Regions from separate parts of the Homo sapiens genome. Here region 1 is linked to region 2. The links are contacts of gene promoters, found by promoter capture Hi-C in blood cells and fetal thymus (Javierre and others, 2016). All regions are on one chromosome and are shown on one strand. The core of a region is centred on a gene start or on the middle of the fragment in contact, and the rest is flanking DNA. Distances in the headings are between cores, read along the strand shown. Region 1 has its middle 5.9 kb from the start of CD9. Region 2 holds the start of PLEKHG6 (pleckstrin homology and RhoGEF domain containing G6).

What was found. Contacts are between HindIII fragments. The CHiCAGO score rates a contact against its expected background, and 5 or more counts as called.
Region 1: a fragment that was not itself captured here is called in contact with the fragment with the promoter of PLEKHG6 in region 2 in 1 of 17 cell types (M1 macrophages); the score reaches 5.4 in M1 macrophages.

What each region holds. Positions count from the first base shown.
Region 1 is chr12:6,191,207-6,197,752 of GRCh38, forward strand. No RefSeq gene overlaps it. Among named protein-coding and RNA genes, the nearest start is that of CD9, 5.9 kb to the right of the region's middle. RefSeq lists an enhancer at 1-562 and a silencer at 2,890-2,939. The HindIII fragment of the contact is 278 bases long and covers 4,452-4,729 here.
Region 2 is chr12:6,305,216-6,311,931 of GRCh38, forward strand. PLEKHG6 (pleckstrin homology and RhoGEF domain containing G6) reads left to right here and starts at 5,467. Exons shown (of 16, transcript NM_001384598.1): 1 at 5,467-5,633. RefSeq lists an enhancer at 4,281-5,001 and a silencer at 5,364-5,413. The HindIII fragment of the contact is 5,964 bases long and covers 596-6,559 here.

The DNA.
Region 1 (6,546 bases), core at 3,341-5,840, 110 kb before region 2:
GGCCCGCAAGCGCCGCTCACAGCCCCGGTTCCCGCTCGCGCCTCTCCCTCCACACCTCCCTGCAAGCTGAAGGAGCCGGCTCCGGCCTTGGCCAGCCCAGAAAGGGGCTCCCATAGTGCAGCGGCGGGCTGAAGGGCTCCTCAAATGCCGCCAAAGTGGGAGCCCAGGCAGAGGAGGCCCCCAGAGTGAGCGAGGGCTGTGAGGACTGCCAGCACGCTGTCACCTCTCAAGGGGACCAGCGTTCAGCATACGGAGGATCCCGCCAGCCTCTGAGTTCCCTTAGTATTTATTGATCATTCTTGGGTGTTTCTCGGAGAGGGGGATGTGTCAGGGTCATAGGATAATAGTGGAGAGAAGGTCAGCAGATAAACACGTGAACAAAGGTCTCTGCATCATGAACAAGGTAAAGAATTAAGTGCTGTGCTTTAGATATGCATACACATAAACATCTCAATGCCTTACAGAGCAGTATTGCTGCCCGCATGTCCCACCTCCAGCCCTAAGGCGGTTTTCCCCTATCTCAGTAGATGGAATATACAATCGGGTTTTACACCGAGACATTCCATTGCCCACCTTCCTCTTGTCTCAACTGCAGAAAGGTGTTCCTTCCTCTTTTACTAATCCTCCTCAGCACAGACCCTTTACGGGTGTCGGGCTGGGGGACAGTCAGGTCTTTCCCTTCCCACGAGGCCATATTTCAGACTGTCACATGGGGAGAAACCTTGGACAACACCTGGCTTTCCTAGGCAGAGGTCCCTGTGGCCTTCCGCAGTGTTTGTGTCCCTGGGTACTTGAGATTAGGGAGTGGTGATGACTCTTAAGGAGCATGCTGCCTTCAAGCATCTGTTTAACAAAGCACATCTTGCACCGCCCTTAATCCATTTAACCCTGAGTTTGACATTGAGATTAACAGCATCTCAAGGCAGAAGAATTTTTCTTAGTACAGAACAAAATGGAGTCTCCTATGTCTACTTCTTTCTACATAGACACAGTAACAATCTGATCTCTCTTTTCCCCACACCCGCCATCATGCCCAGCTAATCTTTTTTTTTTTAGACGGAGTCTCACTCTCACCAGGCTGGAGTGCAGTGGCGCAGTCTCAGCTCACTGCAACCTCCGCTTCCTGGGTTCAGGCGATTCTCCTGCCTCAGCCTCCTGAGTAGCTGGGATTACAGGCACCTGCCACCACGCTCAGCTAATCTTTTTTTTTTTTTTTTTTCTGAGACGGAGTCTCGCTCTGTCGCCCAGGCTGGAGTGCAGCGGTGTGATCTCAGCTCACTGCAAGCTCTGCCTCCCGGGTTCACGCCATTCTCCTGCCTCAGCCTCCCTAGTAGCTGGGACTACAGGCGCCCGCCACCACGCCTGGCTAATTTTTTGTATTTTTAGTAGAGACAGGGTTTCACTGTGTTAGCCAGGATGATCTCGATCTCCTGACCTCGTGATCCGCCCGCCTCAGCCTCCCACAGTGCTGAGATGATAGGCGTGAGCCACCGCGCCCGGCCGCCCAGCCAACTCTTTTAAACAGATGCATGAAACCTGAAATTATCACCCAGGACAAATCTTGTAAGAGTCTAGTGGATGATTCAGAAAGAAGTTGCTACAGGAGTGTCCTGAGAAAGAGGATCAGAGCAGACTAAGATGACTGAGGGTGCTGGGGAAGGCAGGGGCTGGGCTGGCCTCAGAGATGGTGCAGGCTGCTTGAAGGGCAGAAAGGAGGAAGTGCCAAGAGCTTGGGCTTCGGAAAGAAGAGGTGGGGACCCAGGCATAGAGCTGGGGATGCATGTGGTATTCCAAAAGAGTGAACAGATTTGCAAACAGAGGTTAAGGCGAGAGAGCAGAGGGCCTGTATGATGATCTTACAATTGAGACATCGGCTTTCCATACATTCAATAAATATTGTGCACCTACTGTATGTCAGGCACTGTTCAAAGCCCTTGGGATACATAGAGAACAGAACAGCCATGCGGATTTTGCATTCTAGCTGGAGGAGACAGGTAAATAGCAATGCACATACCAAGGAAACATTCCACTCTGTGAGAAGGTAAATGCTATGGGAGCATTGTTTGGAAGTAGAACAGGGGTAAGGGGAGTTGGGAGATCTTTGAGCAGGAAAGAGTAAAGCTGAGCTTCAGGAGTCTGATGAAAGGATGATATTAAATATTGCTTGTTTAGAATTGCTCCCCGCCTGCCCCCAACCCCCATATACTAAGGAGGACAGACCCTGAGAGCCATGATTTGTTTTGCTGAGCAGGGTGAGGGGAGGTGGGGACACAAACGGAAAATGCCAAGTTTAGAGCTAAATTGCTCCACACAGACATATGCAGAGGACATCCACAGGGCAGGGGGCTGGCTGAGGCTGGGCTGGGGGGCAGATGATAGGGGTGGCTGCCACAGATTGGACGTTTGAGAAGAGCTATCCAGAGGGATTCTTAGAATGGTTCTCTCTGGCATATGAGAGGGAACCCCTCATCCACCTATCCGTGAAACCTTCATAAAATCCACACTGGACATAGGCAGTTTCCAGGTTGAGTGTGTGTGTGCTTAATGCAAGGAAAAGAAGTGATGGGTGAGAGGAGGGCAGCCCACCCCCAAGGACGCACGCAGCAAGACTCTCTGGGTCCAATGTTGTGTCCATCCTGGGCAGGTGAACAGCAGCGAGGCAGGGCAAGGGTAGAACAGCCGTTTGGGCTGCAGATGAGCTTCCAGGATGCAGCCCCCTTGCGGATGGCAGGGCATCAGGGGGAACAAAAGATCAGGATCCAACCCTGGACTGAAACCAGAAGCTCTGAGGTCTGATCTGTGCTCTGCCACTCAATCACTACAACCCGCCTTAGCCCTGGTGCCTCCCAGCAATGACGTAAGAACAGCTAAGAAACAGGAATCACATTCACTAAGCAGCTGTGAGGCTGGGGGAAGGAGGAGCCCCAGGTGATGGGAGGTGTTGGTGCTGACTGATTAGAGACAGGGAGGGCTGAGGAGAAAGTCAGCTGCGAGCCTAGAAAGCCCTTGGAGATTATGAATTCTGATCTTGATGTTTACATTGAGATTACTATATTTCCTATTGCTTCGGTAACAACCACAAATTTAGTGGCTTAAAGTAACACATATTTACTATTTCACAATTCTAGAGGTCTGAAATCTAAAATGGGTGGGCAGGGCTGTGTTGGATCCCTCTGGCAGCTGCAGGGGAGAATTCGTTTCTTCGCCTTCTCCAGCTTCTAGAGGCTGTCCTTGTTCCCCAACACACAGCTGTGCATCACTGCGACCTCTGCTTCTGTCGTCACATCTCCTTCCCTGGCTTTGACACTTCCACCTGTCTCTTATAAGAACCCTTTGGATTCCACTGGGCCCACTGGGATGGTCCAGGCTATGCCATGGAAAGTAACACATTCACAGTTTTGGGGATTGGAACGTGGGCCTATTTGGAGGGCCGTTAGAAGTGGAAACGGGCCAGGCACGGTGGCGCACGCCTGTAATCCCAGCACTTTGGGAGGCTGAGGTGGGCGGATCACCTGGGGCCAGGAGTTCAAGACCAGCCTGACCAACAGGAGGAAACCCCATCTCTACTAAAAATATAAAAAATATAAAAAATATAAAAAACACGGTGGCTTACGCCTGTAATCCCAGCACTTTGGGAGGCTGAGGTGGGTAGATAACGAATTCAGGAGTTCAAGACCAGCCTGGCCAATATGGTGAAACCCCGTCTCTACTAAAAATACAAAAATTAGCTGGGCATGGTGGTGTGCGCCTGTAGTCCCAGCTACTTGGGAGGCTGAGGCAGAAGAATCACTTGAACCCGGGAGGCAGAGGTTGCAGTGAGCCAAGATCGTGCCACTGCACTCCAGCCTGGGTGACAAAGCGAGACTCCGTCTAAAAAAAAAAAAATTATTAGCCGGGCATGGCAGCGCACACCTGTAATTCAATCTGCTTGGGAGGCTGAGGCAAGAGAGTCTCTTGAGCCCAGGGATGGAGGTTGTAGTGAGCCGAGATTGAGCCACTGCACTCCAGCCTGGGCAACAGAGCGAGACTTGGTCTCAAAAAAAAAAAATCTGCAGGCTCTTGGATATCAGGACTTGCATTTACAGAGAGATGAGTTAAACAGAGAAAATGGTGGAAGGCACAAAAGGGGATGAGTGCTCCAGGAGAGGTCTGAGAGAGAAGGGCAGGGGCCTGAGAAAGCCCCACGCCCAGCCGTCATTCTGCAGATGTTTGCAGAGGGCCTGCTCTGGGCCAGGAAGGGACCGGGAGCTAGGGAGAGCACAGAAATTAATCAAATGCAAGTGCACCCTCGAGGAGCTCACTACCAAGAAGTGGACACATAAAGGAAGATGATGATGACCAGAGAATCACACATGCGAGACTCAAGGTAATCCACGGAGAAAAAGACTGGAGTGCTCCAGGAAGGCTTCATAAGGTGGTGTATTTGAGCTTAGAAAGAGGAACAGGAGAGAAGCTTCTAGAAGTGAAGGAGGTGAATCAAGATGGCCACTGGTGTGGTGGCTGGAAGGGCCTTGGTGGCCTGTGAGAGCGAGGGTCCTACCTGTTGCCTTACAAAGCCATTGCCCACAGCTGGAGGGACCTGGGGCATGGGTGTGACGGCTCATTAGGTCACCTGGCCTCTGCGTGTTCAAATCTTACCACCAGGGGGGGCACAAGAGCCAAAGTGGACCCTGAGCCTGAGCTGGGGTTTCTTTCCCAGAGACAGGACGCCTTGAGGGAAGGGAGGAAAAGCTTTCCCACTCCAGCACCACAAAGCCTGGAAGGCCTGGCTGCTTCCATGTGATTTCTGACTCAGGGGCTTACCCATATTTTCCTCTTCCGGTTAAGGCAAAACATAATTTTTCCATCGCTCACCTTCCTGGTTGCCTGTAGCACTAACTGTCTGTAACAAATGCACTTTGGCCCAGGGGTTTATTGTGACACAGAATGTCAGGAGGAATGAAAGACACCTCCTGATCCAAAATGCTGTGAACCAAAAAGTATCTGAGACAGGTCTCAATCAATTTAGAAAGTTTATTTTGCCAAGGTTACAGATGGGCGCCCAGGAGGCAGATCTGTGCCTTCTGCAAAGATGATTTTGAGGGCTTCAATATTTAAAAGGCGGCTGGTGGGGAAAGAGGAAGAAAGTTTTTTTAAGGTGTGGGTAGGTAAGAAACAAACGGTTGCATTCTTTTGAGTCACTGATCATCCTCTCACTGAATGCACAATTTACATGGCAGAGGAGGGTAGAGAAATAAGTCACTTATGCCTTGTCTAGCACAGCGAATCTTCATTTTTACATTGGAGGAAGCAATCAGATATGCATTTGTCTCAGGTGAGCAGAGGGATGACTTTGAGTTCTGTCCTTTTTTCTGTACCTGTGAAGATATGCTATCAATTTACATTGTCATGGTGAAATTCAACAGAACTGTTTTAGGGCAAATATCATAGGGTCCACCAGAAATTTCCTCATGGGCAAATTGTGAAAGAAGTGCATAGCTGCTTTTTTTTTTTTTTTTTTTTTTGAGACGGAGTCTGGCTGTGTCCCCCAGGCTGGAGGGCAGTGGCGCGATCTCGGCTCACTGCAAGCTCTGCCTCCCGGGTTCACGCCATTCTCCTGCCTCAGCCTCCTGAGTAGCTGGGACTACAGGCGCCCGCCGCCACGCCCGGCTAATTTTTTTGTATTTTTAGTAGAGACGAGGTTTCACCGTGTTAGCCAGGATGGTCTTGATCTCCTGACCTCATGATCCTCCCGCGTCGGCCTCCTAAAGTGCTTGGATCACAGGTGTGAGTCACAGCGCCCAACAAGAAGTGCATAGCTTTTTTTGTTTTTTCTTTTTGAGACGGAGTCTCACTCTGTCGCCAGGCTAGAGTGCTGTGGCGCGATCTCGGCTCACTGCAACCTCCAACTCCCTGGTTCAAGGGATTCTCCTGCCTCTGCCTCCCGAGTAGCTGGGATTATAGGTATGCGCCACCATGCCTGGCTAATTTTTGTATTTTTAGTAGAGATGCGGTTTCACTATGTTGGCCAGGATGGTCTCGATCTCCTCACCTCGTGATCCGCCCACCTTGGCCTCCCAAAGTGCTGGGATTACAGGCGTGAGCCACTGCGCCCGGCCGAGAAGTGCATAGCTTTTTAAAAAATCTTTGTAGCTATCTTATTTAGGAATGGGAGGCAGGTTTGCCTGTGGCAGTTCCCAGCTTGATTTTTTCCTTTGGCTTATTGATTTTGGGGTCCTAAGATTTATTTTCCTTTCACAATACTCTTGTACAGGTGAGGAGACTGAGGCCCAGAGAGGAGGCTGCCTGCCTAACATAGACCAAAGGGTCAGAACCAAGAGTAGAACTCAGACCCCCTCACTTCAGGCCCAATGCTCTCATCACATAAAAAGGATGCCTTGATTATACGAATGTGGCACTGAACTATATAGGCTGACCCCAATTCTTTCTTCAGTGTAAACAATAATAGGAATAGGAGCAACAGGCAGCGTTTCTGCAGCGCTTCTGTGGCAGGCAGGTTCTAAGGCCTCCCTGTGGATTTCCTCTGTCAACACTCACGTTTACCCT
Region 2 (6,716 bases), core at 4,217-6,716:
AGGGCTTCCCTATGAACCAAGACCCTGGCATGAGACAGAGATGGCTCCAAGCCTCTGAGCCCTGCACAGTGCATTTGTATTCTAAAAACAACAAACCAACAAGTGCAGGAGCAGTAAGGGAGGCAGAGATCCGTCATTTAGGCAGGCAGAAATGATTAATGCAAAATTAAGGTAGAAACCGACACAAAATGGGCTGGGCACAGTGGCTCATGCCTGTAATCCCAGCACTTTGGGAGGCGGAGGCAGGCCAATCACGAGGTCAGGAGATCGAGACCATCCTGGCCAACATGGTGAAACCCCGTCTCTACTAAAAACACAAAAATTAGCTGGGCATGGTGGCACGCTACTGTAGTTCCAGCTACTTGGGAGGCTGAGGCAGGAGAATCGCTTGAACCCGGGAGGCAGAGGTTGCAGTGAGCCGAGATTGCGCCACCACTACACTCCAGCCTGGCGACAGAGCAAGACTCCATCTCAAAAACAAACAAACAAACAAAAAGAAAAAGAAAAAAAAAAAGATTCCACAGCTCTTGGTCCAGCACCTTTTCCTCCTTCTCTACCCAGCCGACTACTACTCATCCCTCAAGTCCCAGCACAAAGCTTGCCTCCTCTAGAAGCCATCCCTAGCTCCCCTATGTAGTAACTGGTCCTTCCAAAGTGTTCCTGCAGCTCCCAGTTTATCCCTTCTATGTCTAACTTCCATATCAATATTCTGTTCACCCATCTGTTCATCCAGTGTTCTGTTCACTACAGGGCATGTTGGCATGTGCCTGTGGTCCCAGCTACTCGGGAGGCTGAGATGCGAGGATCACTGGAGCCTCGGAGGTCTGGGCTGCAGAGAGCTGTGATGGCGCTACTGCACTCCAGTCTGGTTGACAGAGTGAGACCCTGTCTCAAAAAAAGAAAAAAAATTCCACAGCCTCTCTGGGGCCGCATGTCAAAAGGGTGCCTCGGAGCACAGACCTGGACATCCAGACATCTGACTGGAAGATATGCCACCGTAAATCCCAAGAAGGTAGATCCACCCGATTGTCTTCTAGTCACCTTCGCCATCAGCTTCCAACAGAGGCAAAGGCCTTACATTCTCAGTGTCCCAGTCTTGGCTCAGTGCAAGACAAGTGACTGATAAACCTCACGCTAAGGCAGAAAGAGCCCTCTTTCCCCTGGGGCAGACATTGCTAAGCCATCTTAGCATTCTTTCTGCTGAGCCAGCCACAGAATCCTTCTTAAGTTAATGTTCCAGGAACCCACCACCTATCAGAATTAGCCCGCAATTCAGGATCTGAGAGAATCTGGAATTTTAAAAAAAGAAAAAGAGAAAAGAATTGGCCTGCAAGGTAAACTTACATGGTATGTTTGCCCTAATGGAGAGGAACATTTAGGTGCATCACAGATGTCCTGATGCTACAGTAATCAAGCAGGAAAGGAAACTGAAATTATGGAAGAATTCCAGGTATCTAAAAAGCAAATGTGGTTCCTTTGGGTAGGGACAGAACAGTACAGGCCAGTCTATCTGCAAGTCATTCTGTCTGGGTCCTCTAGCAAGTCAATCCAGTTCAATTCCCAAACACCATGCCAGTCTTGTGTTAGGCTGGTCTCTGCCCTCAGGCATAGGTGGCACATGCTAATATCAACTTAGTAGGGAGAACAAGAGTGGTGCCTTTTAAAGAAACATAGCGGTCAAGGCAGCTGCAAGCAGGGAGGAAAGTGATCAGCCTGGCTGCGGGATTATTAGGAAAGGCTTCGTGAAGGAGGCAGTCCTAGGAAAGACCTCGAAGGAGGTAAGTGGAGTCGGAGGACAAGGCACCCAGCTGAGGGGAACAGCTTGAGCAAAGGCATGGAGTCAGGAAAGTCGAGGCCGACCCAGGGAATGGGGACACATCTAGGGATTGAGTAGGGAAGTATAACTGAGGTCAAACTGCGGAGGTCCTGGAAGGCCACAAAGAAGGTTCGTCCTCCTAAGCCACCACCCAGAGACCCTCGGCTCGGAAGCTGGGATATTCCCAGGGAGCCAACAGGGTAGACCCTCAGGAGGCCTTTAGGGAAGTCTGCCCTTCCCCAGTTTCTTTTTAAACATGCTCTTCCCTCCTCCAGAAATGTCCTTTCCTCCTTCTCAGCCCAGCTGACTGCTACTCATCCTTCGAGTCCCAACACAAAGCTCGCCTCCTCTAGAAGCCATCCCTGGCTCCCCTATGTAGTAACCGGTCCCTCCAAAGTGTTCCCACAGCTCCTGACTTAGTCGTTCTTGGTCTAACTTAAATATCAATGTTCTTTTCGCCCATCTGCCTCCCCACTAGTCTGTAAGCCCCTAGAAGTCAGGGCCTCTTATTCTTTTCTATATTCCTACTGTCTTACACATTGCCAGTAAATGTGGAAGGAAGGGGGAGGGGACGAAAGAAGAAACGGGAAGCACCAGTTCTGGCCTGAGGCACCAGAGGCTTTGCCCTGTGGCCTGTCCTCCTGGTATTCATCTGCCTCACATGACCTGGCGCCTCCTAGCTTGAACCCTCAGTTTCTGCCTCGCTCTGGGCAGGGAGGACACAGCTCCCATTAGCTGCCTCCTGTTGCTAGTGCCTGCCAGCCCCTCATTAGCCCAGATGGTCCCCACTTCTGCCCTGAGAGATATGGGCTCAGCAGAGGTCGAGGCACAAATGAGTTTCCCTGACCTTCCTGCCTGGTGAGCCCCTTATGCCAACCCCAGGCAGTTATCCTCAGGCTGCTATTGGACAGAAGCATTTGATCCTCAGAGCTCTGACCGTGGACACACACTTTACCATCAGTTATGGGGTCAATCCAGGGGCCTAATGAGGAGCATCTTACCTGGGAGAAAGTGAGGCATATGACTCAAGCTAGACATGTGAGGAAAGGCTAGGATAACCAGGAATAAAGAGAAGTATCCAGATGGCATACTCTGGTCCAAGGACCAGATGGCCCCTAGCCTCACTTGGCAGAGGCCAAGCCTCCAGCCTCCCAATTCTTTACATTTCATTCAGCTCCCTGAGAATGCTCCCCTCAGCCTGCCATAGGAGTGTGCTCTCCGCAGCACAGAGGAGTCATGGAAGTGGAGACTGTGAGAGTGACAGAAGAGAAGAAACAGAACATGGAGGCCTGCCTCCTAGGCCACACACCTGTGCCCGGCCACACCTCTGGCTTCTAGACTCCAGCTTGCCCTGGGAACCTCTCCTCCCAGGGAGGCTGAAGACAGGCCCTGGGGCAGTAGTGGGTGGAGACTGGACCTCAACGCCTAGAGGGAAGTGAAAGGGTTAACCACCCCGCCACCCACCACCACCTGCCACTGGGCCCCTCTAGCCAGCTCACCCCAGAGCACTGTAAGCCCAGGCTTGTCTTTGGTGCTCTCTCAATTTCATCTTCCCTCTTATTCCTCCTTCCCACTCCTTCTGGGAGACACTGGGAGGAGAAGCTAGGGGCCATTGGCACCAGCTGTCTCTGGGGTGTCATTTAATACTGTCCGTAATCACCACCTCCTCTCCTGGCTTATTAACTCTTTCCCTCATGGCTACTCTTGTCATCCCTGGACATCTCTCTATCTCTGTCTAGCTCTCACCACACACACACACACACACACACACACACACACACACACACACACACACACACACAGTGAATGGGAAGAGGGAAGGGCTAGGAACTAGGCACACTCTGGTTTCTTGCCACTGCAGTTCCTTTCCCACCTGACTTCACCCCCGAAAACTAGTCCCACCACCAGCTGGGCCAGGAGCAGGAGACAGGCTGGTTCAAGGAGCTGGAGGAACAGAGGACACTTCTGAACCAGCAGAGCAATCACACAACAGCAAGCTCAGAGAAAGAGAATCCCAGAGGGCAGATTTGAGGATGGACACAGGGAATACAAAATTAGAAACTGCCCAAAGATATAGATTCCTCCTCCAAACAAAATAGAGTCACCAGAGTCCGAGTGAGGACTAGAACACTCTGATCATGTATGCGTTTCATAGCCTAGATGGGAAAAGGGAATAGAGGCCTTTTCCCCTGGCAACTCAAGGAGATTCTGCTTCTGAAAGTGTTTCCTGAACTTCAGGATGCTCTGAAGAAGTAAGGAGCCGTATCAATCACTGTTGAGTTCATTGGCAGGAAATAGACCACAGTCAGGGTGAGGGGCTGGGAGCCTCAGACCTGCCACCTGCCAACTACAGGGTCTTGGGTTTCATGGTTGTGAGATTATAATGACCACACATCCACAGGACACTTCTATCTCAAATATCCAGTGCTTCTGTCAGACGAGGTGCCATGATTTGGAGAAGTGAAAAGGTGGGGAAACCGAAGCAGGAGGATCGCTTGAACCCAGGAGTTGGAGTCCATCCTGGGCCACACAGCAAGATATTGTCTCTATTTTCTTTTTAAAAAATAAATTTTAAAAATAAAGAAAATAAAGTATGGTCCTTTCATGCAATGCCCAGCATGTGTCAGTCCTTCCACAGCATCTTTTTCTTTTTCTTTCTTTTTTTTTTTTTTTTTTTTTGAGATGGAGTTTCACTCTGTTGCCCAGGCTGGAGTGCAGTAGTGCTGTCTTGGCTCACTGCAACCTCCACCTCCCAGGTTCAAGCGATTCTCCCGCCTCAGCCTCCCAAGTAGCTGGGACTACAGGCGCCCGTCACCATGCCCAGCTAATTTTTGTATTTTTAGTAGAGTCGGGGTTTCACCATATTGGCCAGGCTGGTCTCCATCTCCCGACCTTGTGATCCGCCCGCCTCGGCCTCCCAAAGTGTTGGGATTACAGGCGTGAGCCATCGCGCCTGGCCCCACAGCATCTATTTTAGCAGCCACCGCAAGGGCTGGGTGACCCTGGTGTAGCCGGGAGTGGGCTTATTTGCAGGTGAACTGGGAGGGTGCCCCCACCTGAGTCTTAGGTCATAGGAGAAGTGCGGGTCAGGCCTCAGCTGCCTATCCCTGGAGCAAAGGCAAAGTCCAGGATAGCCTTCCAGTATCACCTTCCACCAGGCAGGCCAGCCGGTCCTCTGAGAGATAAGGCTCACACTTTGGACTCCACACAGCGACGGGGCCCCCTGCCCCTCCAGCTGGCAGGCGGGCTCCCTGCCTGCTTAGGGGTCTAGGCCGAGGCAGGGGGAGGACCGGACGGCCGGCCACTCGCCGCGACCAGCAGGAGAGAGGGGTGCCTGCCACAGGTTGTCACCCTCGCCGCCTCCCCCGGCGGCGCCCCGCCCCTTACTCAGCCCTCATTACTGCAGCGCCTCGCGGGGGTCTGGCCCGGAGTGGAGGGCGCGCGGTCCCAGCCCTCCCGCTCGGCCGGCGGGTGTCGAGTTCAGGTGCGACCGAAAAGGGGAAAGGAGGGCACCGCCACGTGAGCTGTCCTCTCCGGGGAAGGCGGTGGCTGCGTGAGGGCGGGGGCTGCTCGGTCCCCAGGGCCCCGCCCCTCTGCCCCTCTGCCCCGAGCGGTGCTGGCGGTAGGGAGGGGCCAGCCCGGTCCCCGCCCTCCTCGCCCGGACCCGCGCTGCCCGGCTCCCGCGGGCCGCTCGATCCCAGTCCCAGGCTGGGCATCGGGGCTGGCTGGCATCGCCGGGGAGCCGACGGCGACGGGGAGCCCCGCGGGCGGGGAGGGCGGCGCAGGGCAGCGGGTGCGGTGACACCTGTGGGCACAGGTGAGCGGCGGGAGGGCTACGCGGCCCGGGGGCGGGGCGGCCGGGACCCGGGGCCTGGAAGCCGGGGCGAAGGGGAAGGAAGGCCTGGCCTCCCGAAGGCGGGAGGAGGGGAGCCGGGGGCTGGGCTGAGACAGGACCCTGGGTAGGGAGCAGTGCGAGGGAGACAGCGCCCTCAGAGGGAGGACTATTGGGAGGCGGCAGGAGGGACAGCGAACGTTTCCTCCTCTGCTCCTGAATCGGAGGAAGGTAAGGGAGGGCTGAGGCAGGACCTCAGGCCCACCCGGTCGGGGCACAAACACCTGCGCAGCCTTCTTGAGCCCACCGCCCCTTAGGAGGCCTCTCCTCTTCCAGGCCCTGCCCACTCGAGGGCGGGCCCTCCCTCCAGGTTTAGGGGGGAGGGATGGAGCCCCACGCCTGGCCCCCAGCTCCATGGTGGTATTCCCAGAGTCTGGGGAGGACCAAATATATAGCCCGAAACTGGAGAAACTCTAATTCTATTTGGCTGGTCTCTAAGGGCAGTGGCCGGACAGCTGGCCCCACTCACCTCCCTGTCTGTGGTCAGGAGGGTTCAGGTAGGAGATGGGCAAGCCTTTCAGTAAAGGCCAGACAGTAAAGATTAGAGACTTCGCGGCCTACACCGTCTGTCCCAACTAGCAAGAAGCAGTCACAGGTTATTAGGAGACCAGCAGAAGAGGATGGATTCCAACAAAACTGTGTTTATGGACACTGAATTTGAATATCATGTAATATTTACTTGTCCCAAAATATTGGTGGCTTTTTTGCAGGGGGGGCAGCAGTTGTTTCAACTATGTAAATATGTAAAGGCTTACAGGCTGTACAAAAACTGGTGGCAGACTGGGCTGTCTCCAGCCACCCCCACTCCCAGCCCACCCCACCCACCATGGCCTCCCTCCAGCTTTTTCCCAAGCTTTATATGGGGAAGGGGATGGGGTTATATCTAGGTGCAAGGAGAACCCTCCCACCTGGGTGTATCCAGAAAGCCCGAGACCTGTCTGTGACCCTTGTTCCCATTTGAGACCAGTGCAGGAGCTTGTACCCCAAATATGCACACATGTGAGAGAG